Linked DNA regions of Homo sapiens: region 1 is linked to region 2. Evidence: promoter capture Hi-C in 16 types of primary human blood cells and fetal thymus (Javierre and others, 2016). All regions are on one chromosome and are shown on one strand. The core of a region is centred on a gene start or on the middle of the fragment in contact, and the rest is flanking DNA. Distances in the headings are between cores, read along the strand shown.

Region 1 (5,037 bases), core at 1,248-3,747, 310 kb after region 2:
TACCACCTTACTCCTGCAAGAATGGCCGTAATCAAAAAATCATAAAACAGTAGATGTTGGCGTGGATGCAGTGATCAGGGGACACTTCTATACTGCTGACGGGAATGTAAACTGCTACAACCACTATGTAAAACAGTGTGGAGATTCCTTAAAGAACTAAAAATAGAACCACCATTTGATCCAGCAATCCCACTACTGGGTATCTACCCAGAGGAAAAGAAGTCATTATTCAAAAAAGATACTTGCACACACATGTTTATAGCAGCACAATTCACAATTATAAAACTGTGGAACCAACCCAAATGCCCATCAATCAACGAGTGGATAAAGAAACTGTGGTATATATATATATATATATATATATATATATATATATATATATATATATATGATGGAATACTACTACTCAGCCATAATAAGGAATGAATTAACAGCATTTGCAGTGACCTGTATGAGATTGGAGACTATTATTCTAAGTGAAGTAACTCAGTAATGGAAAACCAAACATCGTATGTTCTCACTGATATGTGGGAGCTAAGCTTTGAGGACTCAAAAGCATAAGAATGATACAATGGACTTTGGGGACTTGCGGGGAAGAGTGGGAGAGGGGTGAGGGCTAAAAGACTACAAATATGGTGCAGTGTATACTGCTCGGGTGATGGGTGCACCAAAATCTCATCACCACTAAAGAACTTACTCATGTAACCAAATACCACTTGTACCCCAGTAACTTATGGAAAAATAAAATAAAATAATAAAAAATTTTAAAAACCCAGCAAACATCTCAATGCACTGGAGGTATTTGTAGGAGCATCTTTGAAGATCCTCCTTCTGTGGTCCCCAGGTAGGGTTTAGGAATTTGTATTTATTTAGCTCCTTAGGAAATTTGGACATATGGCCATGTTTGGGAACTTTAGATACTACTCTACATTTAGACCATACACTGCAATCTGAAAAGGAAAGGAAATGGAGACAAATAAAATGGTCAAATGTTCTTCTTCAGTCAATGAGGACTGGGTTCGGGGCCAGGAGAGTTATTTTCTCGTCCCTAGAAACTCCCGGCTACGGACCTTTGTTATTGTGTGGGACAGAAGGGAATTGAGATTCTTAGCCCACAGTGTCTCACAGCCCCATTTTCTTGGGGCAAAGCATCTTAGAGAGATTCTATTTTTTGGTGCCAACTGCTGTAGTGCCCAGTGCACAGGAAAAGGGTATAAATACCTAAGCAACTTCAAAATCTCTCCCATTTGTATATGAGTTTCAGATTGATAGGATGACCAGCTTAGTTCGAGTGACTAACCATCTCAGTTTACCCAGGACTGAGGTCTTTTCCAGAATGGGTTGTGGAGGTGGCGGGGGAGGGCAGAGTTGCAGTGCTACAACCAGGAAAGTTCTGGGCAAATCAGGATGGATGGTTGATAACCTAATTAGCATAGCTTATTTGAATACCTTGCTGCCCTTCAGGGCTAAGTGGACTGTCATCTGGCGGGAATGGGGTGGGATCTGAACCTGTCCCCATGCAGGGTTTCTTGGGACACTTGCCTCCATTACATTAGCTTGTCAAAACCCTGAACAGTTTCCTCCAGGACAGGATATCTGACCATGCCATAGAGAGTACCTCCAAGATCACAACCCAGAAACCCAGCATTATAAACCCTACTGCTATAGAGAAAACTCCCTAGATTGGGTATCGCTGCTTTCTCCCAGACCCTTGGCTCCATTTTCTACTTTATTTTACTTGCTCCAATTTTTCTGCTTCCTTCACACATGTGTTCTCAATAAGTTGACTTCTGAACCTGTGCTCTCAGGTCCCAGTATACGTGAGAGCAAGAGGTCATCATATTCATCTTCAGACTTCAGGTTAGGAAGAATGTCTAAGCTGCCAGTCTAGCTCAATCTCAGACCACAGGGCAGTGGCCAGGGCCTCTGGTCCTTTAGCCAGTCCTGCCAAAGCTGCCCTAAGCTGCCATTGGAATTCACAGACCTGTTATGCTTCTCTTCTAGGAGGCAAGGTGTGAGAAGGTAAAGTTTACTGAGCAGAAATCTGAACAAAGGTATAAATTATGAACAAGATGTGGATCAGCATGTTAGATGAAGACTAACTACTAATTACAGCCTGTAGGTACATTTGGAGCTTTATTTCCACTGGCAATGCAGAAACACCCAGCAAAAATGTGAGAGGAGTTGGTGGGGCTTCCTAAGAGGACAAGAAGTGGAACCTGGCAGGAGATCCATGGGAGCTCCTGGGACTAGAGTTCTGGGAAGTTGAAAGAAATTCTCAGAAAGAGATATGTAATTTCCAGACTGGGAGAGGAGCCCTCCCTGCAATTTTTTTTGTGGGGAGGAGAAGGGCATGGCTCACGTGTTGTCCTGAGCTTTGTTGGCCCCCAACTGCAGGCAGAGAACCAGGAGCAGGGTGGCAGGGCTGGCCCTGAACAGGAGCTGGAGCAAGCGCATGCTGGAGAAAACAGAAGGCAATGTGTCCCAGAGAAGTGGTGTCCCAGGTGCCCAGCACATTTCTTATATACAGATTGATCAAGGAAGTGCAAGAGCTGCCAGGGAGATCCATGAGGTGAATCACCCATTCACCCTCCCCACTCGTGATCTTTCCTTGTTGACCCAAAGTTTGTTTTTCTAAGAAAAAATCAACACTCAGCTAGAATGTCAGCGTTTGAGAGAGGAGTCAGATTGTTCTTCCTTATTTTTTCAGCATCAGAGTTTCTCAAAATGGCTGGGACCTCAAAAGATACACCAGTTTTTCCCGAGTTTACAGATTCAGTTTTCTTTTCCCTCCTAATTTGCCTGTCTGAAGTGCTATGTGTAGTCTTAGCTTCAGTCACTGCTCCCCTGGTCTCTGAAAGCAGAGAACACAGCTGTGGTGGCAGGTTTCAGACCAGAGACATAGAACATCTTTGCTTGATCAAATTATAGTGAGTTCAAGATGCAATGCTATTCAAAACATTTCTTGGAGGGCTAGGATGATCAGGACTTCCCTAGCAGTCACTACCCATCATGAGGTGGAAGAGCTAGAGAAGACCTGAGCTGCTCTACATGATGGGGAAGTGAGTTCAAGACACTGGGTGATGTAAAGATGTTTATTGTCATTGAGTCCTTCTTAATTTCAGGTGTGGTTGCAATATACTGCAGATGTCCAAGATCCCCAGCTGCCCCACAATCCCCAAGGCAGGGTGATATTTTAATTCTAGACAATTCCTATAAATAGCTGGCACCCCCAAATCAGACTTCTTGGCACCAAAGAGCTGGCTTATTTTCTTATTGACATGGCCACTTTCTTACACTTGTCTCATGCGTAAGCCACACAGGAAGAACCACAGTGGAAAGGATTCCTTCTGTGAGAATGGAGCCCACATTATGTCCAGTAGATACCCAGGTTGTAGAATTCCTCTCCTTGGGATGATGGGGAGACTTGCTCTTGCTGACACTGGCATTGTGTTATTTCTCCTTATGAAATTAAATCTGCTCCTTAACCTATGACTTACAATACTATGGGATTTGTTTCTATCATTTGCATGGCACACAGCTGCCCAGGAAGAGCCTCTCTGGCAACAGAGTGAAAATCAGAGTTCTAGGAGTTACCGCCTCTGTATGTTGCTTTAGCCAGGATTCAGAGCTAAAGTGTAAGTGTGTGCTTCTGCTTTCTGGATGTATCTCTCAAAATTGCTCTGTCTGTTTATTCAGCTCCTGGATCTACCTTCTCTTTTCTTTGAATTGGACACCATTCATGTCATTGCTCACTCAGAACTTCAGCTGTTCTCATGATCACATGCTTTCTTCCCTGTTTATGTCCTATCCACTCAAGAACACTGCTTGTGAGGGTCACAATGACCTTCCTTTGTAAGCCTTTTCCCACAATTAAATTGTCTTTACACCTGGTCCTTCTCACTTGCATAATTTCCATTTGAAGCACATCCTAGCTACACTGACCAAGGCAGGCATAAGGCAGAAGAATCTAGGAAGTGTCTGTGTGGGAAAATGCAGGAAAAGTTCTTTGCTTGGCTCTTTGAAGGCATAGCCCTGTCCTTGAGGATGCAACTCCAGCACTCCCAAAAGGCAGTGTCCAGAGGAAGGCAGATGACGATGGGTTAAGAGCATCTATTGAAGGTAATGAGGCTGTTCTTCTGTGAGCTAGCAGGAAACTGCAATACCTACAATGTACAGGACAATCTTTTTTTTTTGAGACAGAATCTCACTCATCCAGGCTGGAGTGCAGTGGCATGATCTCAGCTCACTGCAGCCTCCACCTCCCGGGTTCAGGAAATTCTCATGCCTCAGCCACCCGAGTAGTGGGGATTATAGGCAGGTGCCACCATACCCGGCTAATTTTTGTATTTTTGGTAGAGATGGGGTTTCACCATGTTGGCCAAGCTGATCTTACATTCCTGACCTCAAGTGATCCACCTGCCTCGGCCTCCCAAATTGCTGGGATTACAGGTGTGAGCCACTGTGCCTGGCCTAGGACAAGTCTTATTCAGGCCATGACTGCTGTGATGGTTACTTTTATTTGTTAGCTTAGCTAGGCATGGTGCCCACTTTTTGGAAAAACAACAGTTTAGAAGTTGCTGTGAAGTTGTTGTTTGTTTGTTTGTTTTAAATGTGATTAACATTTAAATCAGTAAAATTTGAGTAAAACAGATTACCTCCATAATATGGGTCAGACTCATTGGATCAGTTGAAAGTCTTAAGAGAAAAGCTTGAGGTCCCTTGAGGAAGAAGATTAGGGAGAAAAAGAAACCATAATTATTATGCCATAAAGAATGAACAAGTCTAGGTTTAAGAAATCAGATAAAGGTTGATAAAATCAGATTGTAAACAACTCAGGAAGCTTACAGAAGAGAATGTGTATAGTCCCATAGGGAAAGAGTTAGAATATAGGTGAGGCTTGCCACAGGCTAAGTTTACAAAGAGAAAGATAATCTTAGTCCTGACAGGGCTCATGAGAAGAAGATAAGGAGTGGACAGAGAGGGAGTTATAGACACCAACACACATGAAGCATATGCTGTGTGCATTACACTGCT
Region 2 (5,548 bases), core at 1,577-4,076:
AAAGTAGAGGAGGAGGAGGAGGAAATAAAGAAGAAGGAAATACTTTGAACTTGCTAAATTTGCTCATGGTACTATCAGGTGGTAATGTCCAATTAGTGGAAGAAAATATAGGATTGGAGTTTAGAGAAAGGTCAAGGCTTTGGTAATTATCAACATGAAGGGCATAATTGAAGCTATGTGAGTAGATTTAAACACAAAGGAAAGAGATCAGATATCATCTCAAAGGAAGAAGAGGGCTGGCTAAGGACAGAACCAAGAGGCAGGAGGATGAGTGGTTAGTGAAGGGGACACAAAAAGAAGCGATGGGAACTGGAAGAAGATCCTAGCATCCGTCGCCAAGAGAACAACTTTTAGAAAGATGCGCAGATGGGCAATTATGGGTGAGGTTTAGTTTCCCTTTTAAAAAAATCTTTCACCAAGATCAGCAGTACTTTTGTAAAAATATTTTTCATCAGTTTATTTTAAGGAAATCATTTGTTATCAACAGAGGCAAATACAACAGAGACATGGGAGGATAAGGGCTGGGGACAATATCACATTTAGTGACAAAGAGATCGTGTGTGTCCCTGTAGAAACAAACATGTTTCAGCAGAACAGGGAAGCAGGAGAGGATTGGAAGGCACACGGGAAGACCCTGCAAGTGACTCATTGGCAGCACAGGGGTACAGGGAGGGGGAGGAGCGAGACAGATAAGGGGATTGTTTTCAGGAAAAAAGTTTAGAGGCACATTTGTTGAAGAAGGGAAGGACAATAAAGAGGGAAAGTTGGAAGATTTGTGTAGAAGTAGAAATCCTTGACCTAGCAGCAGAGAGAAAACAGGCAGGAGCAGGGCTAGGATCACAGATGTCAGCCTTGAAAAGCCAAAAACAGAGACCAGTCCTCTAATGTAGAGTGTGGTGGAGGTAAAAACCAGGAAAGGAGGCGGAGAGATTTTAAAGTGAATGGAGGAAACTTGAGGGTTGTCTCGTTTGAATGATTCAGGGAGTAACTGAACTTAAAGAACGTTTGAGAGGAGCTGGGAAAAGCAGAAAGGCAGTCTGAACATGGTTCACCAAACACAAAGGCTTTTTCTTCTTAAATCTTAGGTCTTAGACAGATACAGATAAACTTCCCCATGTCAGTAGGGGAATTACAATAGGTCCCAATATCAATCAAAAGAAGTTACATCTGAACCCACAGACCTTAACAAATACAGAGGAGACTAACAGGCTGGGCTATTATAGAGAACATGAACCACATACAAATCATAGACCCCTGGCACTCAGAGGGATCTCCAAAGGTCATCGGAGAATACACACATCCCTGGCAACACACACTGCCACACACATGCACCAATTACACTATGCTCTGTGTAGAAGGTTTAGACACCAGAAACTCTTCCATGGAAAGAAGGAGAGAGGCACCACATTAGATGGCCAGAAAACTTTGAATTGATGAGAAGGGAAAGGTGGTTCACAGGACAAAGCCTGAGAAAACTGCAGTTCCAAAAACATGCCCCAGTTCGATTGAACAGATAAAATATTGCATGAAGTTTGAGGATCTTTGCATCCAGTTCCCAGAATGATTATTTTAAATACGAAGAGATCGATCACAGGAAAAATAAAGGCTTCTGGATTCTTTGACCACATCAGGTCCCACAGGAACCATGGCCACATGAACTATGCACTTGGTGAGTACATAACATGACACTAGCCCATATTTCAGGACCTTTACTCTCACCTTGTATCCTATTTCATTGAAGTTATTTTTCTAATCATTAACTGTAGCAACAGAGAGAAAACATTCAATGTGGCAAAGAGAGAAGCTATGTCCCTTTGAGTCCATGCCTTCTCCACAAGAATCTCCTTGAAGTTTTTCATCAGCTGTGGCTCAAGGTGTCCCACACCTTGAGGAACGACGACTCTTCAGCACAGCTCTCAGCCTGCAGTTGCTGAAGAGCAGAATGATGGGGTGAACTGCTGCACACAGATAAATCACTGACTCCCACACCCAGAATTTAAAGTCCAGAGGTGGAAAAATACCTGCAGCACTGAACACCAGTGACAGGAAATATGAGATGAAGAGCATGGCAAAAGAGAGGAGAGCCAGCAGAGCCTTTATGTGTGCCTGCACACTGGGCTCTCGGAATCCTGAGGTTGTAAGGAGAGCCTTCTTCCTGTGTCTTCCCAGAGATGTGATGAGCAAAATCATGCAAATGAAAAAGACAGCAGTGGGCATTGTCCAAGTAATCATTTTTAGAGGGAAGAGATAGAATTTCTCACAGTAGCTCCGTATGCTATCGCCAGTGACATTCCAAGGTTGTAGATGGTTCCTTAAATAGTTCTGATACATTCTGTGGTTGCCTATGAAAAATAGAATGGTGGTGAAGCTGGAGAGCCCTACAGAGCTGAAGAGCATCCATGGTAGCCACCCAGACAACTTGTGCTTTAGCCAGAAGAAGACAGGGTGGGTGAAGGTAGCAATTTTCACACAATAGAAGACACTGAGCCAGGTAGAGGACCATAAGGTGGCAGCATTCAGGAAGTCCCACTGGAAAGCTAGAAACTGCAGTACAGGGTTGTATGGGAAGGCCATCGGATGCAAGAAAACATAAATGGTCTTACCCATTACCACTGACTGCAGACAGAAGCGAGAGGCCCCTAGGCTAACCAATAACTTATCACAAGGCAACAACATTCTCCGTAGCACCCACTCCACGCCCAGAGCAGCAGTGATGAAGCCATTGCCTGCTATTGCTACCAGGCGTAAAAGGAGTAAAATGGTAACCAAGATGATGGCCTTCTTGTCAGTCACCGAAGATCCTAGAACCATGTGGTCTCCATTCATCTCTCTGGTGGACAAGATGGGTCCCAAAACTTCAAGGGCTATCTCTGTTGGGTTGCTCTGGAAGGTCCTGTAGGATATGTTTGTCCCTCCAGCTGCCCCAAGCGCAGAAGCTAGGCCAGAGTAGAGGACGCAGGCTATCAGAGGAGGGTGAGAGGTTTTTTCTTCTCAGAGTAGATGCAAATATTGTCAAGGCTCAATTTTCAAAGTCCCCATACCTGCCCAAAAATTTGCCTGCTCTTCTGCCTATTCTCTGCCCATGTCAACATCAAAGTGGATAATATATCAGGCCCTGGCATTTAGTGTCCTTACACAGGAGGTTATACTTCTCTAAGCGGACACCTATGACAGGACCATGCACCTGCCAGCTCAGTAGTATCATCCGTGGGGCACACCCGCTACTGAGACAGCGCTCACATCCACGGGGGGGGGGTGATTGTTATGTTGCAGGCATTGTTCTGAGTGCTCTCCTTAGTTCTCACAACAACTCTATGCGGGGAGTAGTATGGCAAGACCCCTTTAACTGAGACAGAGAGAAAACTGAGCAAACCTTTACAGAGAAGGATTAATTCAAGTCTTATTACTCACAGTGACCATCATCATAAAAAAAGAACACTGGAGACAATTATACATAATGAGGCAGGCAACTTTTTTCAAAATTTAAAAATATATATTTGATAACTGGTGGCCTCTAAAATAGCACTTCACAGAGGAACCCCCAGTAGCGATAAGCCAATGGGATATGGCAGAATGAGCCCTGTGCTAGGAGTCGAGACAGCCTTTAGTCCAAACTTTACCCCTTACTGTGAGTTGCTGGATATGTCAGCCCCTCTGCGCCTCATTTTGTCCATCTGTAAAATATGAAAAGTATCCTATGTTCTAATTCACAAAGATGTCTTAGAATCTCGGCTTAGAATGAAAGAAGACATGAAAGATAATCTTACAGATAAAAGAAATAAGACCCCAAATTATATATTACAACTCCCACCTAAAGTCACAGTTACACAGAGGAAAGACCAAGATCCAAACTGATTCCAGGACCAGGAATCTCTGCCATGGTTAGCAATACATGTTACACCTCCATCTTCTTCATCCCTAGCTGAACTCAGAAGCCCAAGTTTTGAGTCTTGTCACAATCACTACGGATCCTCAAGCAGTTAACCTCTCTGAACACCCCCCTTTCTTCACCTATAAAAAATATGGGTCACAAATAAATATGACCATAAATATGGTAAATATATTGGAAATTATAAACCTCTGCATATGGACAAGGAGCAATGATGATGATGACAATTACTTTATTAGAATGGCTATCTTCTATTCCATCCATCCTGTGGCATAATAAGTAGCATAAGGAGAATTCAGGAGAGCATCAGGGATGCAACAGAAGTTCAGGGCACCAAATGTCAGACCACTGATATCAACCAGAGAAGGACAGAGTAAAAAAAAGACCACATTCTTTATAGAAATCAGCTTCAAAGAGTCAAAAAAATCAGCAATCAACACCCAGGTGAGTGTAAGTAGGTTAACGTGTCACAGGGAGATAGGAAAGCAGGAATTGTTCTGGGTCAAATACAGCAATATTGAAGGCTCAGGATCAAGTAACATGACAGTAAGGGGATTTGTAATGAATACACATCTGCTGACACCACAACCTACCAGTTCCATATATAGGACCCCCACAAAAAGGGAATAGAACGCATGTCAGCATCTCTTCCCAGTTCCCAGTCTACTTCCCAGTAGTCCACTTCCAGGTGGAATTGTTTCTTTAACACATACGCCAACCATAGTGGACATAGGTCTTCGGAGTAAAGGAAATAAGATGAACTAAGGTAATTCACTCTGCCTTTCTGTGAAGATGCAAATTTCCAGGAGATAGAGTTCCCAACTGCTCTCTTCCTTGCCCTTGTTCTTCTGGCTGACATTTGGCTGTTTTCTACTGGAACTTGGAGAAATGGGGCAAACTTCGGGCTTATAGCTCTGGAGTATGGCCACCTACAAACCGCCCAATATGGAAAACTTGAATCTTTTTCATCCACCTCCCACACCTTCAATGATAAAGATGTGCATTTAACCTTCAATTCATTTAATAATAATTTATTAAGCATATCCTATATGCCATGATAACCCTTTGAAAGACATTGGGCTACAACAGTGAATTAGATATCTGCCTTCAAAGCACTTTTATGGGCTAAACATAAACCACAAACATTTACTGGACATATACTATGTGCAGAGTAAGTTAATCCAAAAGAGGGAATAATCATTTGAATTTAAATATGCAATGTGTTTCGTGGTGATTCTTTTGTTGTTTGTTGTTTGTTTGTTTGTTTGTTGCATTTGGCTTTCTCATGTCTAGATTTATCTTCTTAGGTAAAAGTCAAGTCTGAGAGTTTTTAACTTTTCATAACCAGTCTTTATAAATGTAATCATGAGGGTAGTAGGATAGGGATCCTGAGTTAGCTCTCTATATGGAAAACCTTCAACTCAGTACTCTCAACAAGTGACTCCCAGTCTGTGGCTCTATGTGTTAGGGATCTTGCTATTCCCATCCCAAGATCTCTCAGAAGAGTTGAGAAGTAACAGCCCCATAATTGTGAGACAATAAAGATGCTGTCTTGCATGTTGGAAGGAAAAAGATGAGGCATCAGTAAAGGAGGGGGATACATGATTATATCCAGAACAATTAGATACATTTAGCTACAACAGAGGACTTACATAGAGA

Evidence for each region. Contacts are between HindIII fragments. The CHiCAGO score rates a contact against its expected background, and 5 or more counts as called.
Region 1: the fragment with the promoter of PIP here is called in contact with the fragment with the promoter of TAS2R60 in region 2 in 10 of 17 cell types (neutrophils, naive CD8 T cells, total CD4 T cells and 7 more); the score reaches 18.1 in neutrophils.

What each region holds. Positions count from the first base shown.
Region 1 is chr7:143,129,537-143,134,573 of GRCh38, reverse strand. PIP (prolactin induced protein) reads right to left here and starts at 2,497. Exons shown (of 4, transcript NM_002652.3): 1 at 2,363-2,497. The coding sequence starts at 2,457. The HindIII fragment of the contact is 4,172 bases long and covers 542-4,713 here.
Region 2 is chr7:143,440,731-143,446,278 of GRCh38, reverse strand. TAS2R60 (taste 2 receptor member 60) reads right to left here and starts at 2,826. Exons shown (of 1, transcript NM_177437.1): 1 at 1,870-2,826. The coding sequence starts at 2,826. The coding sequence ends at 1,870. The region is part of intron 2 of EPHA1-AS1 (EPHA1 antisense RNA 1); the gene reads right to left. The HindIII fragment of the contact is 8,585 bases long and covers 1-5,548 here.